Regions from separate parts of the Homo sapiens genome. Here regions 2, 3, 4 and 5 are each linked to region 1. The links are contacts of gene promoters, found by promoter capture Hi-C in blood cells and fetal thymus (Javierre and others, 2016). All regions are on one chromosome and are shown on one strand. The core of a region is centred on a gene start or on the middle of the fragment in contact, and the rest is flanking DNA. Distances in the headings are between cores, read along the strand shown.

Region 1 (2,613 bases), core at 49-2,548:
TTGTCTACAGAAATATAGTCCTATTAATTAATGTGAACTAACAACAGAACCTAGCTTTGTATTACCACTAACGTAGGCTGTTCTAAGAGAGATGTACTATCTGAAAGACAAAATGTTCATCTCAGCAGGTTATCATCCATCATCCATTTGCTGGGAGCTAAGGCAGAGCCTAGTAACAGCATTCACACTCAGGCCTCCGCTTTTGTAACTCCCTTCAATTTTCCATTTTTTCTAACATCTCCAAGGCAACACCACTAGAGGAAAAGCTAGGGAACTAGAACTACGTAGGTATATTCCGCACTTACTAAAAGCACTGACAAACTGCCGCAGCGCTACTTCTGTTCTCCCATTTTCTCCTTTTTTGCCTATTCCAGGAGCCACCTGCCCACCAGAATTGTACCGCTCACGTACATTGTATACTACCTTTTCCACTCGCTATACACATTACTCTAGTTTAAGTTCTCTTTTCATCAATGCCATCATTCCTTCTTGTAAGGAGCCTTTCTTTCCCATTTCTCCCTCCTACAATTAGAGCTTCCCTTGCCTAGGTAATTTTTTAAATAATGAATGTATCTTTCTCCCTCCTAGATTCTCATTCTTCTAATTTGCATATTTGCCTCAAGCTAAACTCATGGCCTCCTTCACTCTTGGACAACAGTCTAAAGATGAGGTGGGAGGATCACATGTTCGATCCAAAAGGAAGAAGGCAGCTATGTTAACAGGAGGTGGAGAGTCACAGATCTTTGTTTATGCATATTTTTTAGAAATTAACAACGCACACGCTGAGAGCTTAAAGCCCATCAATATGCAAGTATAAACGAATTATCAAAGTTCCTCGTCAAGTAAAGTTCAGGGCTCTCATTCTGGGACACGTATAGGGGAGGGGAGGCTGAAAATTGTGAGGAGGGGGCGGTCATGGCACAGAACTTGCTATCCCCGTGGACGTGGCGGACAGCGGACCCGCTAGTCACAGCTCCACAAGGTCTCGCTCCGGGCGCCTCCGAGGGCCGAACGGTCAGCCCCGCCTCGGGCCTTCCTCCCCGGCCTCCCAACCCGGGGCTGGGATATGCCCCAGACCCCGCAGCCTCAGCGTCAGGATGCACAGGCTGACGGGAGCTGGCCGGTACCTGGTCATAAGGGGACTTCTCCAGCATCTGCGTGCATAGATCGGCGCAGAGCTGGAACTTCCTGCGCCTAAAATAGCTCCAGGCCAGGAGCAGCGGCTCCATCTCCGAGCTCATGGCTGCCGGTGCGGCCAGCGAAGGCCCAGCGCTCCAGGAGAGAGGTGGGCGTGGAGTGAAGAGCTGGCGGCGTCCGACTCTGCCCGGCAACCCGCGACGGCTGGGGCCTTGTCCGAGAGGTGCCCGCAGCGCGCCTGAGAACAGGAAAAAGAAAAACAACCGCAAGCAGAACTCGGCTACAGGGCTTGCCTAAACTTGGTTGGAAAAAGATGTCTACTTTTAAAGGCTACAGGTTTCATTGATTTTGAAAAGAAGGCACCGCGGCTAAACAAAAAGGTAGTGAGTTAGACACCTGCCCCTGGGGTCCCCCACCCTCCCAGGAGGCGCAGCTGCCTAGCAACCGAATGCTCTGCCTGCCCTGCAGGTCCGGAAGAGTCCCTGGAGTTGATCTCTGTCTGGTGTCTGTCCTACTTCTTCCATTCGCTCGTTTCCATCCCTTTCGCTTTACCTTCCGATTCTAGAAATACAAACAAGTAAACAGCTTCCACAGTACCATCCACCCATCAAGACCTAAAGTCCTAAATCCTGAAATTGTCCGCTGTTTCTCGAGGTCCTTCCCACCGAATCTCAACATCTGAACTGCAAGTGGTTTGCTTTTACTCATTTTACAGATGAGAAACTGAGATAGACTCAGAGAAGAGAAATTATTAAAATTGCATTGAGTTAGGGAGCTGGAACTGCAATCTGGTTGACTACAAGTTGCTAATACATTTGTTAATTCGACTCACATGGTGATTCCGGATTGTAAATTGGTGACAGTTTTACCAAACTAGATAATGTGTGCAAAATAATAATAATAATAATAATAATAATAATTTTTAAAAGCTTTGTGAAACATCGTCTCCTGGCACTTGCTGTTTGGCAAGGGTTTACTTGTGCAGAGTGATTTCTTCAAACACAATTCTGACTTTTCTCTAGAAATTTGCACAGATGACAAATATGCTTAAAATTGCAATGGTTATGAAAAGAGAGGTGTGACCGGCTAAATCCAGGTAGGCTTTTCTCAAACCACTGGGGTCTGAGAAAACATTAGACATTCTATTTAATCCACATATTTATATTTTTCATAGGTATTAAAATGAAACTTATGCTTCTAAACTAAGAAATTTATTGTTACCTTTTATTCTCTACTAAGCAGTCTTTCTTGAATTGTTGTATTTTGGAAGTCAGTAATTATCAGGATTGTCATTGTTACAGTTAAGTGTATTGTCATTAGTCTATTTGTGTTCTCCTGGAACTGCCGGTAGAAATGTAATCTCCCTAAAGGTCCTAATGAAGCAGCCCATGGTTTCTGAGTGTCAAATTTTTAAGAACGCACATGCCGACAATTGACAATTGGGCTCAATATTTCACAGCGTCTTTTTGTTTTCTG
Region 2 (2,613 bases), core at 76-2,575, 1.5 Mb before region 1:
CTCAGGCTGGGTTGGGGGGTGCTCAGGCACAGGCACCCAGCACTTTGGGAGGCAGAGGGGGGCAGATCGCTTGAGCCCAGGAGTTCGAGACCAGCCTGGGCAACATGGTGAAACCCTGTCTCTATTAAAAAAAAAAAAATTAAGCCAGACATGGTGGTGTATGCCTGTGGTTCCAGCCACTTGGGAGGCTGAGGTGAGGGGATTGCTTGAATCGAGGAGTTCGAAGCTGCAGTGAGCAGAGATCGTACCACTACACTCCAGCCTGGGTGGCAGAAGGAGACCTTGTCTCAAAATAAATAAATAAGGGTCACCTCAGTGACATAAGTACTTTAGTACATCTAACAGAATTCACAAGAATTACTTGTGAATTGCTTGTACTCTGCCTACCTTCTTATTTCTCCATCTATCTTAAAAAGGTCTTTTTACAGTTTGTCCAATCAGAATTATAATGAGGCCACAAATATGTTGTATTTGCTTGATGTGTCTGTAAGATCTTCGTATCTATTACAATCTCCTGCCCTCTTAAAGCCCTTGATATGTTAAGGAAGCACGGTTGTTTTCTATAATTTCCCATATTCTAGATTTGGCTAATTGTTTCTTGGTAGTACAAAGTCTTCTAAGTTGTTCCTTTACTCTCTATATTTCTGGTAGCAAGTGTGATTAGATTTTGGGTGGGAGGAACCGGGGTCAAGAATGCTTCACAGACAGGTATTTCCTAACTATCAAAGACCCTTGAACTTGATGGGACTTTCCATTTTTCCTTGTTCTGGGGTATTTAATATGGTAACCTGATTGAAGTTCGGATATCTCACATGACTTTGAGCCGAACTTGCAGTCGTAATTCACATAATAGCTAACACATATTAAGTGCTTTTCATGGGCCGGACTCAATGCTAGGCCCTTTATAAATATGTTCATTTAATCTTCTCAATATTTTGCAGATAAGGAAAGTAATGCTTAGAGCGTTTAAGTTGACCCAGTTAGCAAGGATGGTGTGAATTTAGGGGTCGAACTGGAATCCCAATTTCCTTAGTCCCTTTCGCGGTCAACAATTCCCTTCTCCGGTTTTCGCAGTTCCGGTTCTCACAGGGTCCCAACCACTAGGAACCCGTCACTCCTCGCTCCGCCCCCCTTGGCCCCGCCCCACCCTGCTTTGCCCTGCCTCTCCCTGCCCCGCCGCGCCCCAGTCCCTTGACGACCCTCCTCTCTGGGCCCCGCCCCTCCCGCTTCGGGGTCAAGCCCCAGAGAGCGCCGCGAAAACCACATTTCCCAGAGTGCACCGCGACGGCAGGGGTCCTCAGACCGGCGCTCGCTCGCCGGCGCCATCCCTATAGAGAAGAACGGAGGTACGGCCTGTGGTCATGGCGCTGTTCCCAGCCTTTGCGGGGCTTAGTGAGGCTCCCGATGGCGGGAGCTCCAGGAAAGGTAAGCACACAAACGAGCCGAAGAAGGCACCTGGGGGGCTTAAGAGGCTGTTTCTCGGGCCCAGGTCTAGACTTTTGCTTTGGATTTGTGTATCCATTTGTATCCCAGAGTTCTCCGCGGCGCTGCAAAGCCTTCTGGGAAAGGCTCAATCCCTCCGAGGTCTGGGGCCCAGAGGCCTGTTCTGGACCAAGGTTGTAGAGTTATGGAGGGGTGGAGAAAGACCAGCAGATGCCCTGGAGCTGGGACTTCTGTACGATGTTGTTAGGTCCTGTTCTTCTTTTCGAGCCTCAGTTACTTCATCTTTAAATTGGGAATAATGATACTCGACATCTCGAGGAAACCCTTGATGCAAATGCAGAATGTTTTTATTACATATTACTTCCTTTCCTGTTATACTTATTTCTGAAATGCTTATTAGATTGGTATTACTTAGCGGCCTAGAGCTAGGGGATTAGTATCCAAAACCTAATCAGTTTCTCTCTGGAGGGGCACAGCACCCAGTGAAAATAACTAACATTTATTCTTGAGGGCCTAGTGTGTATCAGGTTATGGCTTTACACATTTTACTTAAGTCCCAGACATTTCCAGCAGAGCTGCATTGTTCAAAATTGGGGTACATAGTTCATTTAAGAAGTAATTAATCCTGGCCAGGAGCAGTGGCCCACACCTGTAGGTGGAAGGATAGTTTGAGCCCGGGAGTTCATGACCATCATGATCAACATAGCGAGACTCCTGTCTCTTAAAAAAAAAGCCAGGCGTGGTGGTGCACACCTATAGTATCAGCTCCTCAGGAGGCTGAGGTAGGAGGATTGCTTGAGCCCAGAAGTTTGAGGCCGCAGTGAGCCATGATCGTGCCGCTGCATCCTGCCCTGGGGTGGGGGGACCTTGTCTCTAAAAAAAAAAGAAAAAAAAGTAATTCTAAATTATGTGCCATATGTGACAGGGCGCAATTGAGTCTTACCTGTCTGTTATATCCTCTAATATAGTTCCTACACTTTCTGTAACGTTTCTCCTAATTTTTTTTTTTTTTTTTGAGACAGGGTCTCACTCTGTTGCCCAGGCTGGAGTACAGTGGCACTGTCATAACTCACTGCCGCCTCAGACTCCTGGGCTTAACTTCCTGCCTCAGCCTCATGAATAGCTGGAACTACTGGTGTGCACCACCAGGCCTGGCTAATTTTTTTTAAT
Region 3 (2,613 bases), core at 43-2,542, 1.1 Mb before region 1:
GATGAGCAAACTAAAATTCAGAGAATGTTAGGTCCTGTGTTAACAATCCATACAGCAAATGAGTGGTGAGGCCAGAAAGCAGATTCTAGAGCTCCTGCTCTTCCTCCTGCAGGTGCTCCCTGAGGAATAAGGAGAGCAAACTAAGGCCATCTTTTGATCCATAACTGAAACATCTATTTGCACTCAGGCACTATTTTGTTTTTTCTTCTTCTTCTTCACCAGGAACTAAAACCAGGCTTTTAAGCAGTGGTTCTCAAACTTGACTGGGCAGTAGAATCCCCTCAAGGGCTCGTGAAAACACAGACTGCAGGATCTCACCCTCAGAGTCCAATTTAATGAATCGGGAATGGGGCCCGAGAATTTGCATTTTAACAAGTTGCAGGTGATGCTGAGGCTGCTGGTCCAGGGCCCATGGAGAACTACTACTGTTGTCAAGTATTTGCTACCTTGTTGATAAACTGTTACTCATCAAGCTTCATCTTAAAAAGTTAAATAATGCTAAACATCGTGCTAAGTGATATAAGGGGTTGAGCTACAGGGTTTTGAGAACACACGCTCTGCCTGAGTTAAGTAAACAGTCTGCTGTTATACTAATGCACTTGCCTGTCAAGAATTTTTTTCCTGAAAGTAGTTAAGAACACAAAGAAGAGTTCTCAGAAACTATTCTAGGCTGCCCTCCTTGTTTCACGGAGGAGAGACTCTCAAGGGCAATTCAACAGCTCCTTGACACCCAGCATCCTCTTACCCTTGATGTGGAGGGCTCCAGAGTTATACTTTGGCTTAACTCCAGAGACTCTAGTGAGGTAAAACTGGAAGGGGTTCCCTTTATCCAGCATGTCCCAAATGTCCTGGCCCTCCCCTGATGTCTCATACTCGTCTTCCTCCTCTTTGAGCCTGTGGCAGGCGGGAGCGCCATGATTTTCAGTTCTTTGGGCAGTGCCGTCATTGGGAGCAGAGATGTCTTTCTCCTTTTTGATCACCACTTTCTCAGCCTGCTTCTGCGGCATTTCTGGTTGCAGCTCATCATCACTGCTGGACAGACACCAGCCGAGGTCCTCCTGGGAACCGCTTTTCTGCCTTTTGGGAGGTAAAACTGAATCTGTATTGCTGAATTTCACAGGTGATATTTTCCTCTTGTGTGCAGCTTTCTGGGCCTCGGAACAGGTGTACCTGGGCTCATTTGCTGCTCCTTGCCTGGCACAGAGAAGAGAAGAGGTAGATGGCTTGTCTGGTTTTGGCTTTTCTTCCTCACTTTCATCACTACTAGATATGGTCCACCTCCCATAATCGCCTTCCTGAGACATTATACTCCTGGAAATGAAAAGTGGAAACATCAGCATTTCCCATTCATCAGGGCATTGGCAAAATAACTTTATTGCTCTCAACTTCCCTGTCAGATGAGCTGACACCTTCCAGAGGCTGAACCACCTAACATCAGCTGCTTTTTGGGTGTTTATAAGCACATTACCAGAATCCACTATCAGATTCTGCCAAATCACAAGCAAAAGTCCTGGTCACCTTTCTTTTTTCTTCCTTTTTTTTTTTGAAACAGGGTCTCGCTCTGTCACCCAGCTGGAGTGGTGCAGTGGTTCAATCTCAGCTGACTGCAACATCTGCCTCCTGGGCTCAAGCAATCCTCCTGCCTCATCCTCTCGAATAGCTGGAACTACAGGTGCACGCCATCACGTCTGGCTAATTTTTTTTTTCTTTTTTTTTGGTAGAGACAGGGTTTCATTATTGTTGCCCAGGCTGGCCTTGAACTCCTGGACTCAAGAGATCCACCCACCTTGGCCTTCCAAAGTGCTGGGATTACAAGTATAAGCCACCATGCCTGGCCTTGGCTTTCAATCTAAACTTTGTTCTTAGATGTCCTAGGAAAGGGGGTTGAAGAATGCATCAAGACAAATGCCAAAATAAAACAAACATTCATTCTTGACCCCGAAACTTCCAATAAGCGTTTGGGATTAAGGTCCATTTAATCTATGTTCAAATGCTTAAGGTCAAATTGGAATTTACAAACCTAGCCTTCACCCAAGTACAGGCACCCACAGGACTTCAGTGATTATGTATGTCTTACTTCCCAAAAGACAACCCATTTACCATAAAGCTTAACAAAGTCTTCAAGAGGAAAGCCAAATGACCACTTAGGTATGTACATTATTTACACTACTTCCATGAGGACCCAACTAATTATAATTAGTTGGATATAATTATATCAAGATATAATTATCCTATTGGCTACATCATAAATCTACTAACACCTACACAGAAATAACTTGTACTGAAGCAACACACTTTTATTTTTTAAGCCCCACAGTCAAATTCTACTTTCTTGTTCTGAGAACAGGAAAGTACACGAAACAGTCACTTTTGCTGTTACCTACCAAATCTTGTCAATTCAGTGGTAAAGGACTATCTAAGTAGACTTTCCAGACAGCTAAAGAACAGTTCCTCAATGTGATACTTTTAACATTTTAGCACAAGACCCAGGGGAAAATTACAAAACTCAGTAGTCTGTGCTCAGATCAACAGTATCTTCGAGTTTCTGCTGTTTTAATGAGGCTGGAAAAGATGCATTGAGTGGAGTAAACCAAGATGGTGACACTCCCTTCA
Region 4 (2,613 bases), core at 75-2,574, 1.1 Mb before region 1:
GAGCAAGCACAGCTGCAGTCAGGGTCCATGCAACAAAACAATTTTTCTAGAGAGGCATAAGTCCTCCTGCCCTGGGATAGTTCTTCTGTGATGTCTCATGGAGGGGAGGCTGCTGAGTGGATGTCAGTGTCGATGAGCTGTTCAATAAATGCAGTAGTGAATTTTGTAAGGCTGTTGCTTCATCTTTTCTCAATGTAGACCAGTGTTTAATGTCAGGGCAATTCTATGAAGGGCAAAGGCTGTGTGTTCCAAGTATACATATCTCAGGTGGTCTGACTTTATTCCAGAATAAATTGTAGATCATTCTATATAAATAACAACAGCTAAGATTTACAGGGCTTTTCTTTATGCTAAAAGCTATAAATAAGAACTGAATGAGCATTGTCCCACTGAATCCTCATACATTTGTCTCTTTGTTATTATCTCGGATCTATGTAAAATATGCCTAAGATTAAAAACCAGAAAAAAGGACTTCAGAATTTTGTTTTCACTAGGCGATTAGATTGAGCATCTTTTCTGTTTCCTTATACTATTGCCATTTTAAATTAATGAACATATTCTACTTTGATACTTGAAAAAGCTTTCCAGGAACTTACTTTTAACCCTCAACTTTGAATGATGGAAAAATCAAAGCGATTGATTCATCATAGCAGTAATTATGGACTGTGTGACTGCTATCCAGTGTAAGGTCCAATTGAAAAATAATTTGTGGATGAGTAGGTTAATGGTCAGTTGGCTTGCATGCTTTTATTTATTAATATCTTGTCTGGCTTGTTCTAAACAAGACAGTTGACTATTAAAGGTATTATTTTTCTAAATTTAAATATCCTTTTTCTGGTCTTAGTTTCTGTCATAAAACACCTGCTGTTGTGTATGGTTTTTTATTTTGGCTCCTATGGAACAAAGATCAGGGTATAGCAGGGATGAAGGTTTTGGTTGATTTCAGATTTCAATTGGCTTCTTAGTTCTTTTCTATAATCAGGAAACTGCATACACATTAAGGTTACCTTATTTTGAAATTATAATCGTAGCATTTTATGGAATCTCCTACAGATATTCACCCATCCATGTTTATTTAATTACCCATTTAGAAAACAGTGAATATGTTTCACTATACAGATGGGGAAGAATTAGGAGACACAGACACTGACCTAAAGACATTTAAAAATATATATTTTATGTGGGCTGGGCACGGTGGCTCACGCCTGTAATCCCAGCACTTTGGGAGGCCGAGGAAGGTGGATCACGAGGTCAGGAGTTCAAGACCAGCCTGGCCAACATGGTGAAACACTGTCTCTATTAAAAATACAAAAATTAGCTGGGCGTGGTGGTGGGTGCCTGTAATTGCAGCTACTCCAGAGGCTGAGGCAGGAGAATTGCTTGAACCTGGGAAGCGGAGGTTGCAGTGAGCTGAGATCCCGCCACTGCACTCCAGCCTGGGCGATAGAGCAAGACTCCATCAAAAAATGTGTATATATCTTATGTGATAGGGAAGATGAAAGAAATATTGCCACTTCTTTTACGGCCAGATGTTATATTACTATTATAGGCAAGAAAACCTATAAGAGTTCAGGAGGGCAGCACTGCCCCCTAGAGGAGGTGTGGGCCTGGAGCTGGACATGCTGAAGGATGGGTGGGATTTGAAATAGTGATGGAGCAAAGGAGAAAAGAGGCGGTAAATGAATGCAGGGCAGGTGCCAGCTGTGTGCCCCGCCTCCTGCTCCTGTTGCTGGTGCTGTGCTCTCTGTGTAGAGTTCTTCAGAGACCCTCTTCTGTGCTGTCCACGTCAGTGCCTGAAATCTTTTCTTCCTAGATCCCTGTTCTTTTACAAATCTCTCGCCCATCTCAGATTTGCATACCTAAATATATCAGCTATCATGCTGTTAATGCAGTCCTCCCATTAACAGAATCTACTCTTCTTGGATTTTTACTTTTTTTTTTTAACCTCTGCAACAGCAAGGAATATAGTATGTAACTATAAATGAATTGTGTCCAGCCGAGTCAGCTGGCATGATGAGAGCTGGGAAGGATTAAGGACCGGTGTGCACGGAAGGAAGGATGAAGCTTTAAAGTCCAGAATAAGGTATTAGGACTTTGTGGTGTTTGACACTGAGGAACCTTTTAAGCTTTATGAGCAGGAGATGTGTATAATAAAAAAGTAACAATTCCTGCCTGGGTTTGATAGAAATAAGATTTTATTGGTTCAGATTTCTCTATTCTACTGTAACTGGTTTTTTTTTTTTTTTTTGCTTTGTTGTTGTTGTTGTTGTTTTGTTTTTTGAAATGGAGTTTTGCTCTTGTTGCCCAGGCTGGAGTGCAGTGGCGCGGTCTTGGCTCACTGCAACCTCTGCCTCCCGGGTTCAAGCCTGGAGGTGAACATGTGATTCTTCTGCCTCAGCCTCCTGAGTAGCTGGGATTACAGGTGCGGCACCACCTCACCTGGCTAGTTTTTGTGTTTTTAGTAGAGACAAGGTTTTACCATGTTGGCCAGGCTGGTCTTTAACTCCTGACCTCAGGTGATCTGCCTGCCGTGGCCTCCCAAAGTGCTGGGATTACAGATGTGAGCCATCACACCTGGCCTCTAACTGTTTTTACTCATTTTCCCTCCAATTA
Region 5 (2,613 bases), core at 32-2,531, 1.1 Mb before region 1:
TTCTTCTTCTTTTTTTTTTTTTGAGATGGAGTCTCGCTCTGTTGCCCAGGCTGGAGTGCAGTGGTGTGATCTCGGCTCACTGCAACCTCCACCTCCTGGGTTCAAGCGATTCTCCTGCCTCAGCCTCCCAAGTAGCTGGGATTACAGACGTGTGCTACCATGCCCGGCTAATTTTTGTATTTTTAGTAGAGATGGGGTTTCACCATGTTGGTCAGGCTGGTGTGGAACTCCTGACCTCAGGTGATCCACCTGCCTTGGCCTCCTAAAGTGCTGGGATTACAGGCGTGAGCCACCACGCCCAGCCTTCCTTTAATTTTATTTCTGAGGAAAAGGGGTCTCTTCTTTTTTTCCTAATTCCTCTCTTTTGTTCTGGTCTTCTCTCTTCCCCTTTTTTTGATCTAAGACATTTCTCCATCAGCCATTCCCACTTCTGTTTATAATGCCTATCCCTGCCTGAAGATATACTCATATCCATCCTAGAAAGCTGCTCTCCCCAACTAAGTACCTCCAGTTGTCCCCTGTCCTTTTTCTCAGGGTTCATTGTTGCCAGCTTCTCACAGCATTCACACCCTGCCTGGAGAGCCAGTCCTCGATTCTCGCTCTTCCCCAGCTTTCATTGCACTGTATTGTCCACTGCAGTCACAGTGCTTCCCGTTCATTGATTACCAACTACGTGTTGCCTTACTTAGTCCTTACAGTGACTCTCCACATCAACGGCATTTCTATCCATTTTACAGTTAAAGCTGAGAGTCCTTTATTGCTCAATTCAAACCAAACAACTAATTCGCAATTATTATTATTTTTTTGGTCAAAGAAGTCACAGAACCAAGCCCCTAGGGCAATCAGAATTTTTTATTTGATTATAATCATGTTGCTGGTACTTGTTAATGGTCAAGTGTTTTCATAACCTCAAAATGTTATTTTCTTGTTTAGAAATGCCACTGCCTAGTAATGATAATGATGGAGTAGACTGAATTTACAGGTAGAATAAAATGTCTGCACTCCCATGTTAATTGCAGCATTATTCACAATAGCCGAGATATGGAAACCCATATTAAGTGCCCACCACTGGATGAATGGATAAAGAAATTGTGGTATGTGTGTACAGCAGAATATTATTCAGCCTTAAAAAAGAAGGAAATCCTGCCATTTGCAACAGCATGGAGGAATCTGGGGACATTATGCTAAGTGAAAGAAGCCAGACACAGAAAGACAAATATTGCATGATATTACTTATATGTGACATCTAAACTAGTCAAACTTGGAGAAAAAGAGTGGAATGGTAGTTGCCAGGGGCTGGGAAGTGGGGAAGATGGGGAGATGTCGGTCAGAGGATACAAAATTTTAGTTACAGGGTGAATGAATTCTAGTGATCTAGTGTACAGCATGGTAACTATAGTTAATGTGTTGTGTACTTCAGATTTGCCAAGGGAGCAGATCTTAAGTGTTTTCAACACACACATACACACACACACACACACACACACACACACACACACACACACACGAAGCATGTCAGGTGATGGATATGCTAATTAGCTTGACTGTGAGTCATTACACAAAGTATACTTTTATAAAAACGTCATCTTGTATACCTTAAATATAGACAATTTTTTGTCAGTCATACCTCAAAAAATGTCTACACAGACTTAGTGAGACTCATGACATGAGTCATGTTAAAGGATATAAGAAACAAATAAAAGTTTAAAAATGCTTTTCTTAACCCAAGTCTTATTGTTAGGATTCCTCATAATCCAGTCATGACTTCAATTAGAAATCCTTGCCGTGGGATATCAAGACTCTTGTCCAAGGAGAGGAAGGGGCAGGAGGGTCTCACTCTTGTTCTCTCCTTGTAAAAATTTAACTCTGTTTGCAGGAGAGAGTATTTGACGAATACATGAACAAATAAATGAATGAAATGAACGAAGGAATAGAATTAATCTGATCAAAGTTTACATGTTCAAATTATGTGTTGAATTGGATAGAGCAGCTGCTGGCCCTTACTTTTTTCTGGGCCTATTTCAAATGGTCTTCTTTACTAGGCTTTCAATTGGAGATTTAGACTTGGAGGCTTTAACAAATATGAATTGAGTACACATTTGTATAGCGATTTAAACTGCTATTATCACAAAATTGTCACAGTAGTTTTAAACTCTGTCAGATGGCTTTTAACCAAACCCTGCCATCAGAGTCAAATTTGATTCTTTGGATGGTTCTTTCCTTTTTTCTGTCTCTTTCACATTGTCTAGTAAAGAAGTTTCTTCAATGACCAGTTTTGTCATAGAGTTGGTGCCATTTATTCTGTGGGTTACAAATTTATCATCACAAGTAGCTAGATGTACTTCTCATAGACAACTTGTATCCACAAATTTGTTGTTTTTTTCTTTTTTTCTTTTTTTTTTTTCTGAGCCATTCTCCCTAGAAAACACAAATTGTTTTGGGGGGAAAAATTAGACTGTTCTTCAGGGGTATTTATTTTCATGATTCACTGTGCAGAGATCGGAGTTGTGCCTTAAGGGCTTGGCTCTGCTCTCTTGATACTGGTATCCATTGCTAGGTGTGGCTCAATTAAACAGGAAGGATGGCTAGATAGCATATATATTCACATGTCAA

Evidence for each region. The method cuts DNA at HindIII sites, captures the fragments that hold promoters and counts their contacts. A CHiCAGO score of 5 or more calls a contact.
Region 2: a contact is called between the fragment with the promoter of NRDE2 here and the fragment with the promoter of TTC8 in region 1, in 2 of 17 cell types (total B cells and non-activated CD4 T cells). The highest score is 7.4, in total B cells.
Region 3: a contact is called between a fragment that was not itself captured here and the fragment with the promoter of TTC8 in region 1, in 4 of 17 cell types (naive B cells, total CD4 T cells, fetal thymus and 1 more). The highest score is 7.3, in naive B cells.
Region 4: a fragment that was not itself captured here is called in contact with the fragment with the promoter of TTC8 in region 1 in 1 of 17 cell types (naive CD4 T cells); the score reaches 5.7 in naive CD4 T cells.
Region 5: a contact is called between a fragment that was not itself captured here and the fragment with the promoter of TTC8 in region 1, in 2 of 17 cell types (monocytes and M1 macrophages). The highest score is 6.5, in monocytes.

What each region holds. Positions count from the first base shown.
Region 1 is chr14:88,823,336-88,825,948 of GRCh38, reverse strand. TTC8 (tetratricopeptide repeat domain 8) reads right to left here and starts at 1,298. Exons shown (of 15, transcript NM_144596.4): 1 at 1,128-1,298. The coding sequence starts at 1,241. RefSeq lists an enhancer at 1,287-1,646. The HindIII fragment of the contact is 2,519 bases long and covers 1-2,068 here.
Region 2 is chr14:90,330,653-90,333,265 of GRCh38, reverse strand. NRDE2 (NRDE-2, necessary for RNA interference, domain containing) reads left to right here and starts at 1,325. Exons shown (of 14, transcript NM_017970.4): 1 at 1,325-1,425. The coding sequence starts at 1,362. RefSeq lists a silencer at 1,092-1,241 and an enhancer at 1,392-1,571. The HindIII fragment of the contact is 5,093 bases long and covers 1-2,613 here.
Region 3 is chr14:89,961,806-89,964,418 of GRCh38, reverse strand. It overlaps TDP1 (tyrosyl-DNA phosphodiesterase 1), which reads right to left. Exons shown (of 17, transcript NM_018319.4): 3 at 746-1,311. The coding sequence starts at 1,304. Among named protein-coding and RNA genes, the nearest start is that of TDP1, 7.2 kb to the right of the region's middle. RefSeq lists an enhancer at 344-1,543. The HindIII fragment of the contact is 1,634 bases long and covers 476-2,109 here.
Region 4 is chr14:89,938,607-89,941,219 of GRCh38, reverse strand. All of the region lies in intron 3 of EFCAB11 (EF-hand calcium binding domain 11), which reads left to right. Among named protein-coding and RNA genes, the nearest start is that of EFCAB11, 15 kb to the left of the region's middle. The HindIII fragment of the contact is 1,484 bases long and covers 583-2,066 here.
Region 5 is chr14:89,915,948-89,918,560 of GRCh38, reverse strand. All of the region lies in intron 5 of EFCAB11 (EF-hand calcium binding domain 11), which reads left to right. Among named protein-coding and RNA genes, the nearest start is that of EFCAB11, 37 kb to the left of the region's middle. The HindIII fragment of the contact is 4,035 bases long and covers 1-2,613 here.